3 separate regions of the Homo sapiens genome follow, and regions 1 and 2 are each linked to region 3. The links are contacts of gene promoters, found by promoter capture Hi-C in human tissues and cell types (Jung and others, 2019). All regions are on one chromosome and are shown on one strand. Each heading gives the region's core, a stretch centred on a gene start or on the middle of the fragment in contact. The rest is flanking DNA. Distances are from core to core; before and after follow the strand shown. Region 1 overlaps DCAF1 (DDB1 and CUL4 associated factor 1). Region 2 overlaps ALAS1 (5'-aminolevulinate synthase 1). Region 3 holds the start of RRP9 (ribosomal RNA processing 9, U3 small nucleolar RNA binding protein).

Region 1 (3,833 bases), core at 286-2,785, 460 kb after region 3:
TAGCTGGGCGTGGTGGTGCATGCCTGTAATCCTAGCTACTTGGGAGGCTGAGGCAGGAGAATTGCTTGAACCCGGGAGGCAGAGGTTGCAGTGAGCCGAGATTGTGCCATTGCACTCCAGCCTGGGCAGTAAGAGTGAAACTCTGTCTCAAAAAAAAAACAAAACAAAAAACGGAGTTTGAGACTAGCCTGGCCAGCGTGGTGAAACTGCGTCTCTACTAAATGTACAAAAATTAGCCAGGCATGGTGGCGGGCGCCTGTAATTCCAGCTACTCGGGAGGCTGAGGCAGGAGAATTGCTTGAACCCGAGAGGTGGAGGTTTCAGTGAGCCGAGATTGTGCCATTGCACTCCAGCCTGGGTGACAGAGTGAGACTCCATCTCAAAAAAAAAAAAAAAAAAGAAAAAATTAAACAGGAGTGTGCCATGCTGTTTATCTTTGATAGAACTTCCCTCAAAGGACTAACGAGCAAAATATTTTGGGAGTAGTTTTGGCCACATTTTGTGCTTAAAAAAATGTAAGCACAAAGTTTTAGACCTCAGAGATCTAGGCCTGGGATTATTGTATATATTACAGGTAGGCATTAGGTAAATCTATTTTTTTTTCTTTTTGAGACGGAGTCTTGCTCTGTCGCCCAAGCTGGAGTGCAATGGTGTGATCTCGGCTCACTGCAACCTCTACCTCCCAGGTTCAAGTGATTCTCCTGCCTCAGCCTCCCAAGTAGCTGGGATTACAGTCACCTGCCACCATGTCCAGATAATTTTTGTATTTTTAGTAGAGACAGGGTTTCATCATGTTGGCCAGGCTGGTCCCGAACTCCTGACCTCAGGTGATCCACCTGCCCCAGCCTCCCAAAGTGCTGGGATTACAGGTGTGAGCCACCATGCCTGGTGGTAAATGCATTTTTGATGAGGGAAAGGTACCATATTTTTTGTCTCATTTTCAAAGGGACTCCTCAAAAGGTTAAGAATCACTGTTTTGATCCAGCTTCTTGCCTCATTTGACAGTTGAAGCTGAGGCTGAGAAAGGCGAAAGTACTTGTTCATCACTACTGAATGGGTATCTAGGCTTGATGAGTATCCCGAGTTTTCTGCTGTACCACAAATAAATCCAAAGGGTTCAAGGGGTTAAATTTCCCTTTTTAATTTTTTCTCTTGCCTTCTCGTCCTTTTCTACCCCTTCTTCACTTTTATTTGCTTGTGTTCATTTATTGGTTGTCTTTTTTATTTTTATTTTTGCTTCCTTAGGCAAAGCCATGACTACAGTAGTGGTACATGTGGACTCCAAAGCTGAGCTCACTACCCTGCTGGAGCAGTGGGAAAAGGAACATGGCAGTGGGCAGGACATGGTACCTATCCTTACCAGGTATGAATAACTTTTTTAAAACCTAGTTTAATAAAAAACCTCGGACACAACTCATACGCTAGATTTCTTCATACACACACACACACACACACACACACACACACACACAAACTAGTTTAAAAAGAAGCAAAAATTGGTGTGGAGAATAGCATAGGAACATTTTCACCTAGACTGTAAATTCTAAATCAATTTTTTTCTTTCCTCAGATTTAGTCTTTATCTCCCTACTTCCTGAAGCTGTTTAATTTTCTTATTTAATTTAATTTAATTTTTTTTTTTTGAGTCAGAGTTTTGCTTTGTTGCCCAGGCTGGAGTACAATGGTGTGATCTCGGCTCACTGCAACCTCCGTCTCCTGGGTTCAAGGGGTTCTCCTGCCTCAGCCTCCCAAGTAGCTGGGATTACAGGCTCCCACCACCATGCCCGGCTACTTTTTATATTTTTTAGTAGAGACGGGGTTTCACCATGTTGATCAGGCTGGTCTCGAACTCCTTACCTTAGGTGATACACCCGCCTTGGCCTCCTCCCAAAGTGCTAGGATTACAGGCGTGAGCCACTGAGCCTGGCTTTTTTTTTTTTTTTCATACGGAGTTTTGCTCTTGTTGCCCAGGCTAGAGTGCAATGGCGTGATCTCAGCTTACTGTAACCTCCGCCTCCTGGGTTCAAGCAATTCTCCTGCTTCAGCCTCCTGAGTAGCTGGGATTACAGGCGTTTGTCACCACGCCCAGCTAATTTTTGTATCTTTTTAGTAGAGACGGGGTTTCACCATGTTGGTCAGGCTGGTCTTGAGCTCCTGAGCTCAGGTGATCCACCTGCCTTGGCCTCCCAAAGTGCTGGGATTACAGGTGTGAGCCACCATGCCCAGCATATTTTTAAATTAAAAAAATAAAAATAAAAAAAATTAGACTCATTTCCCAACTGTTTGGTGAATGTATCTTTTTTTTTTTTTTTTTTTTTGAGATGGAGTGTTGCACTGTCTCCTGGGCTGGAGTGCAATGGCACGATCTCGGCTCACTGCAACCTCCGCCTCCCGGGTTCAAGTTATTCTTCTGCCTCAGCCTCCCGAGTAGCTGGGATTACAGGTGCACGCCACCACACCCGGCTAATTTTTGTATTTTTAGTAGAGACGGGGTTTCACCATGTTGGCCAGCCTGGTCTTGAACTCCTGAGCTCAGGTGATTCACCTGCCTTGGCCTCCCAAAGTGCTGGGATTACAGGTGTGAGCCACTGCGCCCGTCCTGGTGAATATATCTTTACCTGGCTCTTCTGGCTCTGTTTTTTTGGAGACAGGGTCTCACTCTGTCACCAGGCTGTAGTGGCATGATCTCAGCTCACTGCAGCCTTGATCTCCTGGACTCAAGCCATCTTCTTACCTCAGCCTCCCTACTAGATGAGACCACAGGTGTGCACCACCACACCTGACTAATTTTTAAATTTTTTGTAGAGGGAGGGTCTCCCTGTGTTACCCAGTCTGGTCTTGAACATCTGGGCTCAAGCAATCCTCCTGTCTCGGCCTCCCAAAGTGCTGGGATTACAGGCGAAGCCACAGTGCTGGCCTACTTGGCTCTTCTACAGATACCTGAAACAGACCATGTCCAAAATTGAGCTTATCATCCTCATTTCTGTGTGTCTCCTCATTTATTCATAACTTAATGCTTTTTTTATTCCCTACCTTGGTTTTAAACTGAATGGTTTTAAACTGAAAAACTTTTTTTGTTTTTATTTTTTGGGGGGATGGAGTCTCACTCTGTTGCCTAGGCTGGAGTGCATTGGCATGATCTTGGCTCACCACAACCTCCACCTGCCAGGTTCAAGCAATTCTCCCTGCCTCAGCCTCCTGAGTAGCTGGGATTACAGGTGCCCGCCACGACGCTGGCTAATTTTTGTATTTTTAGTAGAGGTGGGGTTTTGCCATGTTGGCCAGGCTGTTCTCGAACTCCTGACCTCAAGTGACCTGACTGCCTCGGCCTCTCAAAGTGCTGGGATTACAGGCGTGAGCCACTGTGCCCGGCATATTTTACCTTTCATTTTTTTTGAGACGGAGTCTTGCTCTCTGCCCCAGGCAGTGGTGCGATCTTGGCTCACTGCAACCCCCACCTCCTAGGTTCAAGTGATTCTCCTGCCTGAGCCTCTGGAGTAGCTGGGATTACAGGCATAAGCCACCATGCTCGGCTAATTTTTCTGTTTTTTTTAGTAGAGATAGGGTTTTGCCATGTTGGCCAGGCTGGTCTTGAACTCCTGACCTCAGGTGATCCACCCACCTCGGCCTCCCAAAGTGCTGGGATTACAGGAGTGAGCCATTGCGCCTGGCCTGCATTAGGTATTGCTCATGTCTTGACTGGCCCATTAAGCAGTGTGCCTTATAAGTTTACCCTCCAGTTTACCCTCTTTTAATACATCCTCCCCCTTGCTGAAAGATTCCTTTTTCTCATACACAAATAGGATTTTCCTACCTTCATTCATACCTACATTC
Region 2 (4,218 bases), core at 420-2,919, 260 kb before region 3:
AGATCTTTGCAGCAGTTCTCTGAGGTGGCTGACATCATTGTGGCGGAAGATGTACTTTGGCACTCGGCTGTTTCGAATCCCTTGGATCATGGAGGCATGGTTCCCAGAATCAGAGTAAATCTCACAGCCTAAGACAACAAAAATGCTATTTATTGCCATGTGCATCGAAGACAAATTATTTCCTAGAGAAAGACAACAGACTTTTCCTTGGAAATGATGCTTTGAAAATGCCTAGTAGGAAAAAGACACTGTGTGCCAGTTTCTTCCTGGCAAAATAACTAGTTAGTGCTTCCCTTGTGAGAAGGCCCAAAGGTGTAGAATAACCTTGTGGCAGGCCATTAATCTGCTCTTAAATCTGACTGCCTCACTCCAAACTCAATCAAGAGCTAACTAAATGATTAAGAGACTTCTCCAAAGGATCATCTTAGAATACAAAACATATTTGAGGCAATTAGCTCAAGGATGAGACGTTTCAAGTTTGAATTTTCACTGGTATCACGTTCTCCTGGAACCCATAATGTACAGTCAGCATTTCATGCTTGACCCCAGAACAAATGCCCAGATAGGATTATGATTTTCAATTGAGAGGTTCTGGTAAGGCTTCTTTGTTGCCAATATTCTTGTTATTACTAAGAAACCCAAAAAACTCGAAGGCACTCATGCCAGGCTTCCTTACCTGGCATCATCTTAGCCAGGGTGAAGAGGGTTGAGTCATTGGCCACAAAGCACGAGGAAAACAAGAGTGCGGCATCTTTCCCATGGAGGTCTGCCAGCTCCCGCTCTAAGTCCACATGGAATTTACTAGTTCCAGAAATATTTCTAGTACCACCTGCCCCAGCACCATGTTGTTTCAAAGTGTCCCTGTTTAAAAATACAAACAAAACCAGAAAATAAAGCTCATGGTTCTCAACACCATGTGAATTTTTTCCCCTTTCTAGGATCCAGGAGACTGAAACATGTTGATGTAGCAACTCTCTCACTGTGAAACCTGGGGTCAGAAATTTCAACTGATTTCATCTTCAGACTAGGTGGGAGAAGGTGTCAATGCTAGGGTGATGATACCTCCAGGAATCATCAAGAACAAGTGTTCATTTAACAGTCAGTAAGTGCTTGGTATTAGCTGAGTTTCTTTTCTAAGAAACTAAGGTTTATTTTCTGAGAAACATTATTCTTTCCAATAACATGTTAGCTTAAGAAAAAGCAAACTCTAGAGGGACATCCTGGATGGTGGTTACCCTCTGCAAGCCAGTCATGTAATGTTTGGATATATCACTATCATTAAACCTCAAACCGGGACCCTCTTTAGCAAGCCTTTGGAGAATCTGGCCAGCAACTCTCTCCAGCATCCCTAGGATGGTGAGCCTCCTGAAGGACGAGTGATGGGATCTACCATCCTTTTTAACATGTCTTTTGGAGTAGCTTTTTCTCTAGCGCTGCTAGATTCGTATTTCTCCACTCACAGCCACAACCAAGGATGTCTCTGTGAAAGACTGCCTGGTGTTAAAGGCACACTCACTTGCAGAGTGATAGAAAGTGGACTGACGTGTGTGGTCATTGAGCCTATAAGCTTGAACCCTCACAAGTTAAGGGGCTCCAGCAGCTACCTGCATATTAGAGTTCCTTTAAAAGTAATCTGTAGATATTTTTCAGAAGCTAAGAATAGTATTTTGCTATGGCACACTTTCAGCTACTGAATGTTCCCTCCATAAAAGATCCAACCCCTATACATCATCATTGGCTTGCCAAATAACAACAGTAATATTTGAAAGCCAAGGGCTACTTACATAACTGCCCCACACACCCGTGGGTGGCGACTCATTCCTAGGTAGTCATTACTGCACCAGACTGACACTTGCTTTTTGGTGATGAGGGAGTCTGAATAGTCATCTGCCATGGGGAAGATGTGTGCTCGCCGGTTCACAGTTTTAAAAACTCGATAGGTGTGGTCATTCTTTTTCTCATCAATTTTTTTCTCAAAGAAACGATCATACTGAAAAGTGGAAACAGCTAAAAATTGAACAAAAGACAGTACAGAATGGTGGTTGTGAAACACAGCTGCATTTTGGTGAAATACAACAAGTCTCAGCTTGGCAACTGAGGGAGATCCTGGGCAGGTTATTTGATGTCCTCATCTTGTAAGTAAATAAGACTGTATGTCGTGTTTGGCTCAGTGCCATGTGTAGACGGTAAGTATTAAAGGACAGAAGGCAGGCTACCAACAGCACCTGTAGTCACCACAACCAAAAGCACCTGCTCACGCAAGCAAGGGATATGGCTTTCAAGCCTCAACTCACCATACATTTTTTTGTTTTTCCTAGAAACTGAGTCTCTGTCTGTCATTCAGGCTGGAGTGCAATAGCGTGATCATAGCTCACTGAACCTTGAAGTCTTGGGCTTAAGCAATCTTCCTACCTTAGCCTCCTGAGTAGCTGGGACTATAGATGCAAGCCATCATGCCTGGCTAATTAAAAAAACTGTTTTGGTAGAGATAGTGTCTTGCTATGTTGCCAAGGCTGGCCTCAAACTCCTGGCCTCAAGTGATCTTCTCCCGCTTCAGCCTCCCAAAGTGCTGGGATTACAGGTATGAGCTACTGTGCCCAGCCTCACCATGCAATTTTATATTTAATCTAATGTACATTTGAATTATAAATTCTTTTCTACATCAGGCAAATAACAATGAGACTTACATTTTGGCAAGTTATCTTGAAGAAGATGAGACACTCTTTCTGGTCTTTGCTTTTGCATGATGTCCTGGAAGTTCTTCAGCAGTCCACTGGGATCCCCTCCATCGGTTTTCACACTAACCACACTGGGGCCTGCTGAGGTTTCAGCAACCTCTGGAACAAAAGTAACAAGAAACAAATGGGACCAACTTTCTATTCTGAGTTCACAATATCTTCCAAACATATTGTCAAAAATGGCTTATGGCCTAGTTCACAAAAAAGGCCAAGCATAACCAAAGTTAGTTATAACTGAGTGTACAAAGCATCTCTTCTATTTTAGTTACTGTAATGGCAGACTCTTGGTGTTGTTTTCAGAGCTACTGGCCAGCTTTAATGAACAATAAAGTCCAAAGCTTTCTTGCTGGTTGGCATGTCTTATTCACTCCACTACATCCCCACCCCAATCCTAATCTCAATTTTCTGTTTTTTTTTTTTTGAGACAGAGTCCCATTCTGTCACCCAGGCTGGAGAGCAGTGGCACGATCTCGACTCATTGCAACCTCTGCCTCCTGGGTTCAAGCGATCCTCCCTCCTCAACCTCCTGAGAAGATGGGACTATAGGCATGCGCCATCATGCCCAGCTAATCTTTGTATTTTTGGTAGGGATGGGGTTTCCCCATGTTGGCCTGGCTGGTCTTAAACTCCTGGCCTCAAGTGATCCACCTGCCTCGGCCTCCCAAAGTGCTGGGATTATAGGTGTGAGCCACTGGGCCTGGTCCTAATCTCAATTTTCTTCATAGAAAACAATTTTGGCCATATGCATAATTTCTGCTGGTTAGGCTTTTGGGGAGCCTTGAGTTCTCTGCAGATATAGCCACACCTATATATTGTGGAGTTAAGGTTGCAATTCAATGACCATCAGTAAGACACACGGCTTGGGAGCCCTAGGACCAGCACTTACTGCAGTAAAACCATTATTTTCTATCTTTATCCTAGCAGATGATGGGAAAGACCAAAGGGACAAAAGGCAGCTGGTGGCAGCTCAAGACTGCAGGTTATTTTCAGAAATTAAGTAGTAACTATAAAAGCTGGTCACATCCCACACACGCACCAGAAAGAAAGTCCCACTTTCGCAATACAGTCCCTTGACTGTCTATCTTGAAGACCTTCCTCTCTGGCCCTAAAAGAGGAAGGTGTTTCCATAAATACTGCCCTAATAATAGCTCATACACAAATCTGAGGGCCCAAAAGAACTAAAAGGACCCCTTCACTACCACTAATGGTTCACAACTCATCTCTTACCTTTCCTCACGGCATTCATTTCCTGCACATCCTCCTGAAGCTCAAGACTGGCTTTGCAGAAGACACTGCTGCCTCTCTGATTCATCTGTGCTGCCAGGAAAGGGCATTTGCTTGCAGTGCCCTGGCTTGTGGCAGGCAAGGGGTGTCCAGACGGAAGCTGTGTGCCATCTGGACTCTGCTGGGATCCATCAGGAGTCTGTTGGACCTTGGCCTTAGCAGTTTTGTCTTCTGAGGGAGGAAATGGAAAAAGTGA
Region 3 (3,780 bases), core at 16-2,515:
CCCAGCTCTTTGTCACTCAGAAACACCCCTTTCCCCAGTCCCAAGTGCAAGGTTAGGACTCTGTCCAGTCTGCCCACTCTGGTCAACAGGGTCTGCCTGGCTCCCTACCCTCTGCAGCTCACCTGTGTGTCCTGAGGGGTAGGGAAAGTGAAAGGAGGCTCTCTCTCTTCCACTTCGGGGCTCCTCCCCCTGTGTCAGCTAGTTCAGCCCTGGCATGGTTGCCGGGCCGAGTCACCGAGCTATGGGGGAGGGTGGGCAGAGGATCCTGGGGGCAGGATTCTTGGGGCCAGATTATCCTCCCGGAGCTTAGAACCCAGAGCTGTAGAAGCCCTTCCCAATGGACTCAAGAGTTCTGAGGAGCCAGAACTCCGGATCAGTGGCCTTGAACTGATAGAGGGCAAAGGCCAGTCCCACCAGGCCTTGCCCTGCCCTGCCGTGGGCAGGACCATAGGACACTCACCCAAGAAAAGCAGGGACATGGGAGAGGTCCTGGCTGCCACCCGGCCTGGTTGTGTGCGCCTCCCAGGGCAGTCCCAGGTCTAGCAACTCTCCATGAGCCTCAGGCGTGAATTAGGGAGAGAATTCCCAACAATCGCCAGAGGCCGGGGATGAGCTTGTGTGGGGGATTAGACATCGGCTATTTGGCCACCAGTGGGGTGAAGCAGAGGCTGGGGCAGGCCGAGTCAGGCGACCAGTCCCACGGACGGGTGGACACTCGATCTGGCATATCCAAGGCCGGGGCAGTCGCGTCCGTAGCGCTGCTCATGTGGCCGGGGCCTGCAGCACGCATCTGCCGGTCGCGCGGTGACCTTGGGCCCGGATACAGACGCAGCCTCCCTCTCCCCGGGGCTGCTTGGATCCCCGTTGGGTCTAGCGCCGGGCTGCCCATGGAGGGGAGGAGTCACGTTCCAGAACGCGAAAGGGCGCCGCGTCTCTGGCGCCCCCCAGCGGCCAAGGGGCGCAAACACAGAGAAGGCTCTTGCTCCGACTTCGAAGTGGGCCAGCAGCAGAGCGCAAGCGCCACAGCATCAGGCCGGAAGCGCCGTGGAGATGCGGGCTTCCTACTCGAGCCTGGTGCGGGAGCCTAGGAACTTCAGGAGGCGGGGCTACAAGCGTGCATCCTATGGGTGCCTGGGGGCGTGGCAGAGCCTGCAGAAGGACCCAATGGAGCAGTAGGAGGCGGGGCCCGGCGGGCGGTGGAAGCCTATCAATACGCGGGGTCTTGCCAGGCGGCTGGGGAGCTGGGAGGGTTCAGCTGCCACGTGAGTTCTGCGGCCGCTGCTACACGCCTGGTGGGCAGCATGTCGGCAACAGCGGCTGCTCGTAAGCGGGGAAAGCCGGCCTCTGGGGCCGGGGCTGGCGCGGGGGCCGGCAAGCGGCGGCGAAAGGTGAGCATGGCGCTTCTGAGGGCCGCGGTCAGCCCTGCTACTGGGACAACCGTCATCCCATCCAGGGGACCTGGGTCCCGGCCCTTCCCCAGCCCTTCGCCCTGGACCCCTGCTGGAGTCAGCTTCGTCCCTCTCTCCGCGGGCCAAATCCTAGAAAGCCGTTCGCTTAACCCGGGAACCACCGCCTTCCCCATTCCTGGGGTTCTGAGGGAACCGAGGGGGGGGGGCCCTTGGTCAATGCCAGGGTGGTCTGGACCCCTGACCAAAGAAAAGACCGTATAATTCCCAGGCCGACTCTGCGGGGGACAGGGGCAAATCCAAGGGTGGCGGCAAGATGAATGAGGAGATCTCCAGCGACTCTGAGAGCGAGAGGTGAGCTATTCTTTTCCACATAGTGGGAGGGAAAACTGAGTCCCATGGTGCACGGAAGACTGAGTGAGTCCGAACAGAACTGAGCCTAGAATCCAAGACTCTGTCCCTTGGCTCTGAGATCGTGGCTGTTTCCTTTAGTTTCTGGTCCTGCAAAGTCTTGTTTCTGCGAGGTCTCTGGGTGGGAAGGACCCTGGGCCCCAATCCGAGGCCATTGAGACCTCCTTAGGTTTTGGCAGGGACTGGACTGATTGAGAAATTGCAGGAAAACAGAACAAAGCTGTCAAGTATTTCTTGCATCCTTCTTCCCTTGCCAGTTTTCCTGCAATTTCACAATTACTGGGCTCCCCGTCTCTTAACATGCCAGGCACTGCCTTTGCTGTTGGAAGTGCAGAGATAGGCAGGCGGGTGAAGAGAGTGTGTTGTAGTGAGGTGTGTATTTTATAGTTGTGTGTTCTGGGAACAGAGGAGGGACATTTAAATAGGGTCTTGAGAGATGAAGAGGAGTCTCTCACGGAGAGGTAGGGAAGGCATTCAGTGATCAGAGGAAAGTCTGAGGTGTAAGTGTGCCAGAATGGGCAGTAGAAAAGATGAAAGGGGGCTGGGCCTGGTAACTCATGCCTCTAATCCCAGCACTTTGGGAGGCCAAGGCGGGAGGATTGCTTGATGTCAGGAGTTTGAGACCAGCCTGGGCAACATAGCGAGATCTTGTCTGTACAAAAAAAAAAAGTTAGCTGGGTATGGTGGTGTGCACCTGTAGTCCCAACTACTCAGGAGGCTAAGGTTTGGGGATCCCTTCCCAGGGAGTTGAAGCTGCAGTGAACTATGATCATGCACTGCTCTCCAGTCTGGGTGACAGCAAGATCCTGTCTCTAAAAAAAAACCACACACAAAAACAGGAGGACTGGTCATAAGTGCATGTAGATTGTAGAGGGCTTTGGATGCCTCCCTCATTTCTGCAGGTGATGGGTGTGGTTGCTTGCAGGTTTTCAAAGGGTCAGGCATGGTGTCAGGCCTGACCCTGTGGGTTGGAGGCTCTTGGACCAGAGAATCCTAGTGCCTTCCCTATGAGTTGACTTTAGAACTCGCTTCTAAAATTGAGTATGTGTTGCCTTAATTTGCTCATGGAAAGAATGTACTTTTTTTTTTTGTTTTTGAGACAGAGTCTCACTCTGTTGCCCAGGCTGGAGTGCAGTGGTGCGATCTCGGCTCACTGCAACCTCTGCTTCCCAGGTTCAAGTGATTCTCCTGCCTCAGCCACCTGAGTAGCTGGGATTATAGGCCTGCACCACCATGCCTGGCTAATTATGTATGTTTAGTAGAGATGGAGTTTCACCATGTTGGCCAGGCTGGTCTCGAACTCCTGACCTCAAGTGATCCGCCCATCTTAGCCTCCCAGAGTGCTGGGATTATAGGCGTGAGCCACCACACCCAGCCATTAATGTACTTTTCTTAATCCGAAGGTTATTGTGGGTGAGTGTGTGCCAGGCTAGTGTGGGCTAAGTGCTTTTAAATATTTTTAGAATGTTGTGTTGTGAAGTGTGTTAGATACAGAAAAGTGAATGAGATATATTTGCACTACAGAGAGTAATGGTAAAATGGTAAACCTCTGTACACTTACTTACCACTTAGGTTAAGAACTAGAACATTTGCAGAAACTTAGAAGCCGCAACTGTCATTCCTAACTTGAGTTAATCATTTCTTTGGTTTCTTTGTTCTTCTTTTAAAAAATTAACATTTTCCATTTAGGTATAATTTACATATAGTAACATGCCCTTTTTAAAGTTATAGTTCAGTGAGTTTTGACAAACACACACAGTTGTGTGACCACCTCTACCCTGAAGGTAAAGAGTTTCATCACCCTCCAGAACTCCTCCTGCTCCTTCGTAGTCAGCCCCTCTCCTTCCCCCCAAGTCTCTGCTAACCACTGCCCCTAGAGTTGTGCATTTTCTAGCATGCCCTGTAAATGGAATCATAGTGTGTACTTCCCTTGCATTTCTTTAGCGTTCTGTCTCATGCGTAT

Evidence for each region. The method cuts DNA at HindIII sites, captures the fragments that hold promoters and counts their contacts. A contact is called where the count stands out against the background at its distance.
Region 1: a contact is called between a fragment that was not itself captured here and the fragment with the promoter of RRP9 in region 3, in 1 of the 25 tissues and cell types used here (dorsolateral prefrontal cortex).
Region 2: a fragment that was not itself captured here is called in contact with the fragment with the promoter of RRP9 in region 3 in 1 of the 25 tissues and cell types used here (dorsolateral prefrontal cortex).

Annotation. Positions count from the first base shown.
Region 1 is chr3:51,481,249-51,485,081 of GRCh38, reverse strand. DCAF1 (DDB1 and CUL4 associated factor 1) reads left to right here. Exons shown (of 25, transcript NM_001387579.1): 3 at 1,246-1,363. The coding sequence starts at 1,254. Among named protein-coding and RNA genes, the nearest start is that of DCAF1, 17 kb to the left of the region's middle. The HindIII fragment of the contact is 7,292 bases long and covers 1-3,833 here.
Region 2 is chr3:52,202,482-52,206,699 of GRCh38, reverse strand. ALAS1 (5'-aminolevulinate synthase 1) reads right to left here. Exons shown (of 12, transcript NM_000688.6): 4 at 3,966-4,193; 5 at 2,688-2,837; 6 at 1,785-2,007; 7 at 677-861; 8 at 1-128. Among named protein-coding and RNA genes, the nearest start is that of ALAS1, 6.4 kb to the right of the region's middle. The HindIII fragment of the contact is 7,206 bases long and covers 1-4,218 here.
Region 3 is chr3:51,939,389-51,943,168 of GRCh38, reverse strand. RRP9 (ribosomal RNA processing 9, U3 small nucleolar RNA binding protein) reads left to right here and starts at 1,265. Exons shown (of 15, transcript NM_004704.5): 1 at 1,265-1,388; 2 at 1,678-1,760. The coding sequence starts at 1,302. PARP3 (poly(ADP-ribose) polymerase family member 3) reads right to left here and starts at 806. Exons shown (of 11, transcript NM_001003931.4): 1 at 461-806. RefSeq lists enhancers at 801-1,130, 1,255-1,903. The HindIII fragment of the contact is 37,282 bases long and covers 1-3,780 here.